Regions from separate parts of the Homo sapiens genome. Here region 2 is linked to region 1. The links are contacts of gene promoters, found by promoter capture Hi-C in human tissues and cell types (Jung and others, 2019). All regions are on one chromosome and are shown on one strand. The core of a region is centred on a gene start or on the middle of the fragment in contact, and the rest is flanking DNA. Distances in the headings are between cores, read along the strand shown. Region 1 holds the start of OR10H5 (olfactory receptor family 10 subfamily H member 5). Region 2 has its middle 9.5 kb from the start of OR10H3.

The links. The method cuts DNA at HindIII sites, captures the fragments that hold promoters and counts their contacts. A contact is called where the count stands out against the background at its distance.
Region 2: a fragment that was not itself captured here is called in contact with the fragment with the promoter of OR10H5 in region 1 in 3 of the 25 tissues and cell types used here (adrenal gland, heart left ventricle and liver).

What each region holds. Positions count from the first base shown.
Region 1 is chr19:15,786,106-15,791,931 of GRCh38, reverse strand. It overlaps OR10H5 (olfactory receptor family 10 subfamily H member 5), which reads right to left and starts at 4,271. Exons shown (of 2, transcript NM_001004466.2): 1 at 4,216-4,271. The HindIII fragment of the contact is 26,370 bases long and covers 1-5,826 here.
Region 2 is chr19:15,744,827-15,750,085 of GRCh38, reverse strand. No RefSeq gene overlaps it. Among named protein-coding and RNA genes, the nearest start is that of OR10H3, 9.5 kb to the right of the region's middle. The HindIII fragment of the contact is 3,047 bases long and covers 316-3,362 here.

The sequences.
Region 1 (5,826 bases), core at 3,022-5,521:
CATGAAGTTAGGAGATCAAGACCATCCTGGCTAACATGGTGAAAACCCGTTTCTACTAAAAATACAAAAAAATTAGCTGGGCGTGGTGGCGGGGGCCTGTAGTCCCAGCTACTCGGGAGGCTGAGGCAGGAGAATGGCATGAACCCAGGAGGCAGAGCTTGCAGTGAGCCGAGATGGCGCCACTGCACTCCAGCCTGGGCCACAGAGCGAGACTCCGTCTCAAAAAAAAAAAAAAATAATAATAATTCATGCAAACAAAGGGATACACTTTGAACAAAATGGAACAGCTGTCTGTGGTGGGGGCAGGGAAGGGAAGTAGAAGTGAGACATGATGATAAATGGGAATAAATAAAATGAGATCACCCCTGTTGTTCATATCAATGATGATCAAATAAGGATGATAAAATATCACTGAGGAGTTGCGGAGTACATCTGTAGTTTAAGTCCAACAAAAATGTGTGTGTGTGTGTGTGTGTGTGTGTGTGTGTGTATGGTATCTATATAACTATATAGATATCTTTGATTAACTGAAGACTACTGTTTTTAAATTTTATTTGTATTTACTTATTTTTGTTTGTTTGTTTTGAGATGGAGTTTTGCTCTCATTGCCCAGGCTGGAGTGCAGTGGCATGATCTCGGCTCACTGCAACCTCTGCCTCCCGGGTTCAAGTGATTCTCCTGCCTCAGCCTCCCGAGTAGCTCGGATTACAGGTGCCCGCCACCACACCTGGCTAATTTTTGTATTTTTAGTAGAGACAGGGTTTTGCCATGTTGGCCAGGCTGGTCTCGAACTCCTGTCCTCAAGTGATCTGCCTGCCTCGGCCACCTGAATTGTTGGGATTACAGGCGTGAGTCACCATCCCTGGCCTCTATTTGTAATTTTGTATCTTTTAGCCAATTTCTCCCTATCTCTCCCTTCTGCCTACCCTTCCCAGCCTCTAGTATCCTCTGTCCTACTTTTTACTTCTATGAGAAAGCTACTGTTGTGATAGCACGTTTTCGAATACTTACCTGGGACCTGGTTCACCCCAATATTACACTTCCTCCTAGCCCTACCTAGAAGATTGTCACTAACTATCTCTCAGAGCCAAGGTTAGCCCAATGCTTGGAGGACTCAGAATACCACCTGGAAAATGGACAGTTTGGCTCAAGTTAGGAATGATCATTCCACACAGAAAAGTAGCATGTGTGGGCTGGAGGGGACCCAGCCAGCCAAGCCAACAACTGCAGCATAGCCTCAACTCCCTCCTCTTCTTCATCCCTCCTCTCCCTCATCTGTCATCTCTGAGCCTCACTCCCTCCCCCTCTATAGCAGGGACACAACCCCAGCTCTGGCCTCACGCCCTCTCTCTCAGCCCACGGTGCTTACCAATCTCCCCTCCTCTGCCCCATCCCTCTTCTGACAGCCAGAGACAATTCTCTAAGACATATCCAGGCCGTGGAGTCACGCAGACCCATGGTTCAAATCCCAGGTTCTCACTGTATGCTGGGATAACCAGAGACCTGCCCTGGGGGTTCCCTGGGCGACGGGATGCCAAGTGCTTAGCACACAGTTCTCAAGGCTGCCAGCTGACGTTGTCGTGATCATCTCTGTCATCATTGCTGTTTGCTGTCTGCTGAGCTGGTTGCCACTCATCCTTGCCTGCCAGGTGACTCACATTGGCACTGTGACAGTCAGGGACTTCAACCCCATTCCAGATGAACCTTCTTCTGTCACTGTAAATGCCTCCTACCCTCCAGCACTCCCTCCCTTGTGCAGCTCACCTCTTCCTCTCTCCTGGCTACCAACAGGCTCCAAGGTCCCTGCTCCTAAATGCACAAATGTTACTAAAAATTACAGAAAGGGGCCATGCCCAGTGGCTCACACCTATAATCCCAGCACTTTTGGAGGCTGAGGCAGGAGGATCACTTGAGGCCAGGAGTTTGAGACCAGCCTGGGCAACATAGTGAGATCCCATCTTTACCAAAAAAATTGTTTTTAAATTAGCCAGGCGTGGTGATGTGCACCTGTAGTTCCAGCTACTCAGGAGGCTGAGGTGAGAGGATTGCTTGAGTACAGGAATTCGAGGCTGCAGTGAGCCATGTTCATGCCACTACATTCCAGCCTGGGTGACAGAGCGAGACCCTGTCTCAAAAAAAAAAAAAGAAAAGAAAAGAAAAAAAAGAAAAGAGAAATACAGAAAGGGCTCTCTCAGCTCTCTGGCACATTCTGTCCCACTCTTTCCCAGAACAGCACCTTAGCAGAAATCTCCAAGGGGGCTCTCCAACTCCCCTGCACAAGTCTAGACCTAGGGAAGGACAAAGGTCAGGGTCCTTCTCCCAGCTGAGGGCTCCCAGGCAGAACCCCAGACTGGTGCACACGCAGAACCTCAGGCTTCTGCACACACAGAACTCCAGAATGATGCACACGCAGAACCCTAGGCTGGTGCACACACAGAATCCCAGGCTGGTGCAAATGCAGAATCCCAGGCTGGCACACACGCAGGCTCCCAGACCCTGCTCCAGTGCCCTCTCTCCTCAAAGGAGACACAATTCAACTCATCCAGCTCTTTCTGCTTATGCACTTTATCATACAACTGAACACACAGATGCAAAGGCAGACAGATCTGAGCAATGCCACACAGTCGCACTGGCTCTGAAATGCACACTGGCGGTGACACCCCCAGCCAGAACCAGAGACACCACCACTCATTCTGCACACACCTATGGAGCCCTTGCCAAATGCCTGGTGCTCATCTGGGGCTGGAATAAACTGGAGACACACAGCCATTCCATGTGTGAGGGCACTGTGTGTGTTGAATCATGTCCCTCCAAAACTCATGTTCATTCAGAACCTCAGAATGTGACCTTTGGACACAGGGAGGGGAACAACACACACTGGGGCCTGTTGGGGTAGGGCAGGGGTGGGGAGAGCCTCAGAAAAATAGCTAATGTATGCCAGGCTTAATACCTAGGTGATAGGTTGATAGGTGCAGCAAAGCACCATGGCACACATTTGCCTGTGTGACAAACCTGCACATCCTGAGCATGTACCCTGAAACCAAACTAAACTAAACTAAAATAAAATAATGTGACCTTAGGTGGCAATAGAGTCTTTTACAGATGTCATTAAGGTAAGGATCCAAAAATGAGATCAGCTGGGTGTGGTGGCTCACACCTATAATCCCAGCACTGTGGGAGACCAAGGTGGGTGGGGCGGGGGATTGCTTGAATCCAGGAGTTCGAGACCAGCCTGAGCAACATGGCAAAACCCCATCTCTACAAAAATTAGCTGGGCGTGGTGCTGTGTGCCTGCGCTAACAGCTGCTTAGGAGGCCAAGTGGGAGGATCAGTTGAGCCTGGGAGGTCGAGGCTGCAGTGAGCTGTGATCGTGCCACTGCACTCCAGCCTGGGTGACAGAGCGAGACCCTGTCCAAAAAATAATAATAATAAAAATAAAAATGAGATTATTCTGAATTAGGTTGTTTACTAAATCCAACAACTGGTGCCCCTCAAAGACGAGGGGAGGACACACAGAGGAAAAGGTCGCGTGAAGAGAGAGGCAGAGATTGGAGCGATGCAGCTACAAATCAATCAATGCCTAGAGCACCCAGAAGCTGGAAGAGGCAAGGCATCTTCTCCCTTAGAATCTTCAGAGGGAGAGTAGCTTTGTAGACGTCTTGCTTTAAGACGTCTAGCCTCCAGAACCCTGCAAGAATGCATTTATCTTGTTTTAAGCCACAAGGTTTGCGGCACTTTGAAATGGCAGCTACAATAATCTCATACAAGCGCACACAACTGCACACACACACACACAGTGAAGGCAGGAGTACACATGGGTGATGCCTAAGTACACCCACATGCATGGTGACACACTCAATGTCACCCGCTTGGCTCAGAACCACCCTCCTCCACAACTTAGTATAGAGACCACTCCCCACCCCAGCATGGACCCTGGTGGCCACGACTGCTGTGGAAAGGGGGCTGCTCTAGGCAGTAGGTGGACTCTATGGGGGACTTGGAGTGAGGACAGGCTGATCCAGCCTGGAGTCAGGTGGCTGAGGCTATAGAACCCCTACTCCATATCATCCCATGCTCCCTCTCGTTTCTTTTCCCAAACCTGTGCCTCCCTCTGTTCCAATTTTCCCTGCTTCTCTTGCCTTCTCCCTTCCACCTCCCAGTACTCTTGCCACTTCATCCTGGAAAGCAGGTTTGGAAATAGACGACTCCACTTACCTTCATCAGAGACCTTTAGGGACGCCTTGCAGCCAGGCCTGTAATGGCCCTGGGCACAGTGCACCCAGGGTGAGAGCTTCATCTCTGCAGGCGTCTTCCCCAGTGGCACGTTCCCAGAGGTGTCTTGAGGAGCCTGCCTGGGATGCAGGATGCAGGGTAATCGAAGTCCAAGGAGGGAGGCGGGGGACCTTGGGATTGCCCTCTCCATTCCTGCCTCCCTCCTTCCTTTGCTGCTTCCCTCCCTCTTTTCTTCCTTCTCTTCCTTCCTTCCTCTCTTCTTCCCTTCTTCCATCTTTCCTCCCTTCCTCCTGCCTGGGACCCCTTCCACCACTACTCACTCTCACTTATCTCAGTCCTGTTCTCATTTGAGGTTTCAGTTTTTACATCACCTCCTCCCTAAAGATCTCACCATCAAACCCTGACACCACCATCAAACCCTGACACCACCACCACCACCACCCCCTGCGGCTAGCGAGGCTGGGCTGGGCTGCCCCAATTCCAAGCATTTTGGAAAAATGGGACTGGATTCTGGGTGATGTTTCCCAGGATGGTGTCTCTTCTCAACAGATATCAGGAAAGGGATCTGGAGAGACACAGAGGTGTGATTCTCAGAAGAAGCATCCTCTATGGTTGCCTCTGGGAACACAAAGCCCACAGAGGGCAGGGAACAAGGCCAAGGTCACACGGTAGGTTCCTGCAGCAAGCCCAGATGGAGTGGAGGGGCCAAGAGCTCCAGCTCTGCCTCTTCCTCCCCATAAACTTGACAGGGTGCATCATGACCCAGGTATCAACACCTTCAGAATCTCCCAGTTCCCCATAACTCCAGAAACAGTCCAACAAAGATTTCAGATACTGGAATTATCAGGCAAGGACTATGAAACAATATTGCTTACGAAGTTTAAATAACGAAATGTAATTTTGGAAATATCTTCAAGGATAAAGCATTGTAAAGAGCGGCAGGGTTGATTTGAAAAAAAAGATATATAATTTTTAGAACCAAAGCTACAATATTAATATCCCAGGAGAAGTTTAATGCATGTCAGACACAATTGAAGAGAGAATTAGTGAGTTGGGGGCCGGGCGCGGTGGCTCATGCCTGTAATCCCAGCACTCTGGGAGGCTGAGGCAGGTGGATCACTTGAGTTCAGGAGCTCAAGACCAGCCTGGCCAACATGGCGAAACCCCATCTCTACTCAAAATACAAAAATTAGTCAGATGTAGATTCTGGATATTAGCCCTTTGTCAGATGAGTAGATTGCAAAAATTTTCTCCCATTCTGTAGGTTGACTGTTCACTCTGATGGTAGTTTCTTTTGCTGTGCAGAAGCTCTTTAGTTTAATTATATCCCATTTGTCAATTTTGGCTTTTGTTGCCGTTGCTTTTGGTGTTTTAGACATGAAGTCCTTGCCCATGCCTATGTACTGAAAGGTATTGCCTAGGTTTTCTTCTAGGGTTTTTATGGTTTTAGGTCTAACATTTAAGTCTTTAGTCCATCTTGAATTAATTTTTGTGTAAGGTGTAAGGAAGGGATCCAGTTTCAGCTTTCTACATATGGCTAGCCAGTTTTCCCAGCACCATTTATTAAATAGGGAATCCTTTCCCCATTTCTTG
Region 2 (5,259 bases), core at 590-3,089, 39 kb after region 1:
TCTGGTAGCCCTAGTGCTATAATAATTACACAAGGAATTGCAATTACAATATTTGGAAGTAGAATCTACCCAATAATCATGATCCTCGCCTCTCTTTGTGCTGAGTTCAATGTTTAATTTAAAAATTCAAATGAAAGTAGATAAAAGTGTTGGGGAACTCCTTTGCACTGGACCTTGCCCAGTAGTCCTGGAGGAGAAGATTCTCGAGCACAACTGCCTAAACAGGAACCACCACAGCTCCATCTAGAAGGAAGCTGCTGAAGCTTTGCATGCTGTTGTGCTGACCAGAAATCTAGCATAAGGTAAATGTAAGCAGACCAGGGAGTGCTCATGACCTTGGACGGAAAATCATGTTTGGAGAGGAAGCTTGTTGCTCATCCCCTTCTATGCTCAGCTGCCTGGGTTTTCTTCCCTACCATTTTATTTAACAAGAAGCTATCTAGAGAACTTGCTCCCCGTGCTGAGCCAGGAGGAGAAACTTGTAAGCTTTGAAGGGGGCAGTTTCCTTTCAAGGACTGGAGAATATGTGTGCAAAGCTGGGGCAGGTCAGGGCAGAGTGTCCTGCAGACTGGTCTGAGGGCATCTATGGGGCTAAAAGTCTCCACACAAGTTCCTCGTTCTATGGTCCAAACCTTCACCTAGATTGTGGCAGTAGGTGAGACAAGAGTAGGGCAATGTAGACCTCTGATTCACCCTGATAGGCTGTAGTGTAGGTTTAAGGCTCTTTCCTTTGACCCAATTAGCCTCCACTCCCAATATTTCTCTGTGCAGAAGGCTCAGCTACATGTGTCAGGCGTTATAAATCCTTAAAATAAATCATAGTTTAACCCAGAATACAGAGTCCAGGCAGGAGGAGGAGAGGAGAGGTGGGAGTAATAATTTCTTCTCCCTTATCGGAAGGGGATGCAGTATCAGAAAATTCATGCTCAATGGGCCAAAGAGTAAATCAGAAAACTCTAGGGGTAAGGGTATGTTCATAGTGGGGGTGAAGGGGAATTCATTACCTCCAATTAAATTTTCAAAAAATTTTTGTACAGATGAGATCTTGCTATATTGCAAAGGCTAGTCTTGAACTCCTGGTCTCAAATGATCCTCCCTCCTTGGACTCCTGAAATGCTAGGACTAGAGGCATGAGCTACCACACCCAGCCCATCTGTCTTGATTTGTGATCTCATGACAATTCCCTGACTTCTCTCCAGAAAGAGATAAGTCCAAGTTCTCTTGTTAGCATCTCTGTCTTCTCCTTCCACTCTTAAATTCTACTGCGAACGTGTGAAATGACGCTGTCATGAAACAACGTGCTAATATAGCTTGTATGACTTTCTATAAGAAAATAATAATCTAGACTATCTCAAAAACAAATGTCAAAAATTGAAGGAGAATGAGGATTATAGAATAAAAGTCCCTAAAAGACATAACTGAATTAACATGTAGTTCTTGTTTGCATTCTGATTAGAAAAATGCTCTTTAAGTAATCCCGATATTAGAGCATTTATTGGATGTCAGGACAAACTAAGGCACTTGTTCTTTTTAGTAAGTTATAAACAAAACTTAAGTTGATATGGTAGTTATATAAAAAATGAACTTATATTTGACTTCCAGTTTCTGATCTGGCATGTAAGAAGCTGAAAGTTGCTGCTGGATCCCGACAATAAGTAAAAAGCTGAATAAACTGAAAACTCAGCAGTCTTGATTGGTAAAAGATGTCACAGGGCAAACTGCAGCTCCCCAAATTGGAAAGACCAACAGGCAAGTAGAGGGAATCACAACTTATTGTAAAAGAAATCCATCCATTGCAACCTCTGGAGGAACCAATATCAGAGAAGGGAAATGTTTACTGTAATTGAAGAATTACTGAAGGCTTGGTATAGACAAATCTGAGAGGTCAAAACTCCTGGGGACCCAGTTATTGGAGGGGGTTCCCACACTTTTGTTGGTTTTACCTCTAAGAGGTCTGTCAAGTCCTCATTGTAAAAGCAGGAGAAAAGACCCCTCATACTTCTGTTAGGGGAGGAGGAACAATGACCCATTTTGAAATACGCCAGAGTATTCTGTTCTTCCTATGAAGATCTACCCTCAGGAGGAACAATTTTCCTCTTTTCAACTTTTATTTTAGATTCAGGAGGTGCATGTGCAGGCTTGTTACATGGGTAAATTGCATGTTGCTGACGTTTGGTGTACAAATGGTGCCATCACACAGGTAGTAAGCGTAGTAGCTGATAGGTAGTTTTTCCACCCACGCCCCTCTCCCTCCCTCCCCCACCGAATAGTTTCTAGTGTGTGTTGTTGCTATCTTTGTGTCCATGTGTAGTCAGTGCCTAACTCCCACTTACCAGTAAGATCATGTAGCATTTGGTTTTTCTGTTCCCGCATTAGTTTGCTTAGGACGATGGCCTCCAGCTGCCTCCATGTTGCTGCAAAGGACATGACTTCATTCTTTTCAACATATGCAAATCAGTACATGTGATTCAGCACATAAACGGAATTTTTTATGCATTTTTTATGGACAAACATTAATTTATGTAGCCTGTGTTTGGGTGTTATGTTCTAGGTGAGGTGTTTTACATGTATAAATTTATTTAATTCTCACCAGTATCATTGTATCTATCTTTTATATAAGAAAAGAAAGATGAGAACTTTTTTTCTTACTTTAAGTTCTGGGATACATGTGCTGAACGTGCACATTTGTTACATAGGTATACATGTGCCATGGTGGCTTGACACAGGGAGGGGAACATCACACACCAGGGCCTGTTGGTGGGTGGGGGAAAGGGTGAGGGAGAGCATAAGGACAAATACCTAATGCATGTGGGGCTTAAAACCTAGATGATGAGTTGATAAACAGAATTTAAAACAAAAACCACATCTCAATAGGCACAGAACGGGCTTTCAATAAAATTCAACATCCCTTCATGTCATAAACCCTCAACAAATTTGGCATTGAAGGAACATACTTCAAAATAGTAACCATCTACGACAAACCCACAGCCAACATCATACTGAATGGGCAAAAGCTAGAAGCATTCCCTTTAAGAAGTGGAACCACACAAGGATGCCCACTCTCACCACTGCTATTGAACATAGTACTAGAAGACCTAGCCAGAGCAATCAGGCAGGAGAGAACAATGAAAGACTCCAAATGAGGAGAAACAATTGAACCAGAACCTAACCTACTGGAGTTTTATTACAGTTTCACTGGAAAAAGAAAATACCCAACTCTTGCCAGCTCTAGTCATCCTGTTCCACCTAAGGGAGGTGGTGTCAGGGGATCCTGATTAGCACATCTGCTGATGGGGGCTGATATCTAAGCATAGGTCTATAGAATGATTCCCCTCCCCATACCTTACTGCCATATTGCTAAAGGCTTATTTAAAACAGTTCTTTTACCCAAGTACTTCATGTCTGGGTATCAAGAAAAAAATTACAAGGCATACTAAAAGACTGTTTGAAGAGAGAGAGAAGGCATCACAAACAGACCCAGATAAGGTGGGCATGTCAAAATAATCAGACTGGGAATTTAAAACAACTATGATTAATGTGCCAAGGGTTCTAGTAGACAAAATAGACAGCAAGGAAACACAGATAAGCAATGTCAGCTGAGATGATAATTCTAGGAAAGAGACAAAAGAAATGCTAAAAGTCAAATCGATTGTAACAGAAATAAGGAATGGACTGGTGGCCCACACCTGTCATCTCAGTGCCTGGGGAGATTGAGGTGGGAGGATTGCTTAAGTCCAGGAGTTTGAGACCAACTGGGTCAAAATATCAGGACCCCATCTGTACCAAAAAAAAAAAAATTGTTCAGATGCGGTGGTGCACACCTGCAATCCCAACAACTTGGGAGGCTAAGGCCAGTGGATCGCTCGAGCCCAGAAATTCAAGGCTGCAGTGAGCTGTGATTGCACCACTGTAGTCCAGGCTGGGTGATAGAGTGAGACTCTGTCCCTATTTTAAAAAATAATCAGAAGAAAAGGAGGAGGAGGAGAAGAAAGGGAGAAGGAGAAGAAAGAGAGGAGGACGTGGAGGAGGAAGGGGAGGGGAGGGAGAGGGGTAGGAGGAAGATGAAACGAAGAATACTTTTCATGGGCTTACTAGTAGACTGGACATGGCTGAGGGAAGAATCTCTGAGCTTGAGGATATATCATAGGATCCTGCAAAATTGAAAAGCAAAGAGAAAAAAGAGTGGAGGGAAACAAGCAGAAGAGAATATCCAACTGGGACAACTACAAAATGTTAACATAGGTGTCATGGAAATACCAGCAAGAGAAGAAAGACAAATGAAAAAATTGAAACAATAATTACCGAGAATTTCTCCAAATTGATATCAGAAATTAAATCTCAGATCCTAGAAGCTCAGACCACTCCGAGTATGATAAATGCCAGAAAAAGTACACGTAGGCATATTATTTTCAAACTACAGAAAATCAAATATACAATGAGAACACACGGACAAGGCAGGAGAAAAATACACACTGGGGTCTGTCACGGGGTGGGCTGGGGAGTGAGGGAGCGTTAGGAAAAATAGTTAATGCACGCTGGGCTTAATACCTAGGTGCTGCGTTGATAGGTGCGGAAAATCACCATGACACACGTTGACCTATGTTACAAACTGCACACCCGGAACATGCATCCTGGAACTTAAAAATTTTAAAAATATATATATAAAGAAAAAAATCCTTATAAAAGCTGAAGGGAGAGCCTTACCTATAGAGGAGTAAAGATTAAAATTACATCCAATTTCTCTTCAGCCCATACAAGAAAGAGGAGAATGAAGTGAAATATTTAAAGTGTTGAGAGAAAAAAATTCACCAACCTAGAATTCTGCACCCTATGAAAGTATCCTTCAAAAGTGGAGGAGAAATAAAGACTGACTCAGATAAAAGTTAAAAGCATTTGTTATCAGTAGACTTGCTTTGCAAGAATTGTTTAAGGAGGTTCTTCAAAGAGAATGAAAATTATATAGGTCAGAAATCTGTGTCTACCTAAAGAAAGGAAGAGCATCAGGGAAGGAATAAATGGAGATAAATAAAAGCATTCATTTTTCTTATTCTTAATTGATCTAACAGATTACAGTTTAAAATAATAAGATAAACAAAGCATTTTACCATCTGTGCACATGTGTATGTTATACATATGTTATATACATTTTTATGAATATATGATATAGTGACAACAATAATAAACGGGATAGAAAGAAGACATCAGAATTGTGTTATTATTAGAAGATACTTGCACTACCTGTGAAATCATATAATGTTA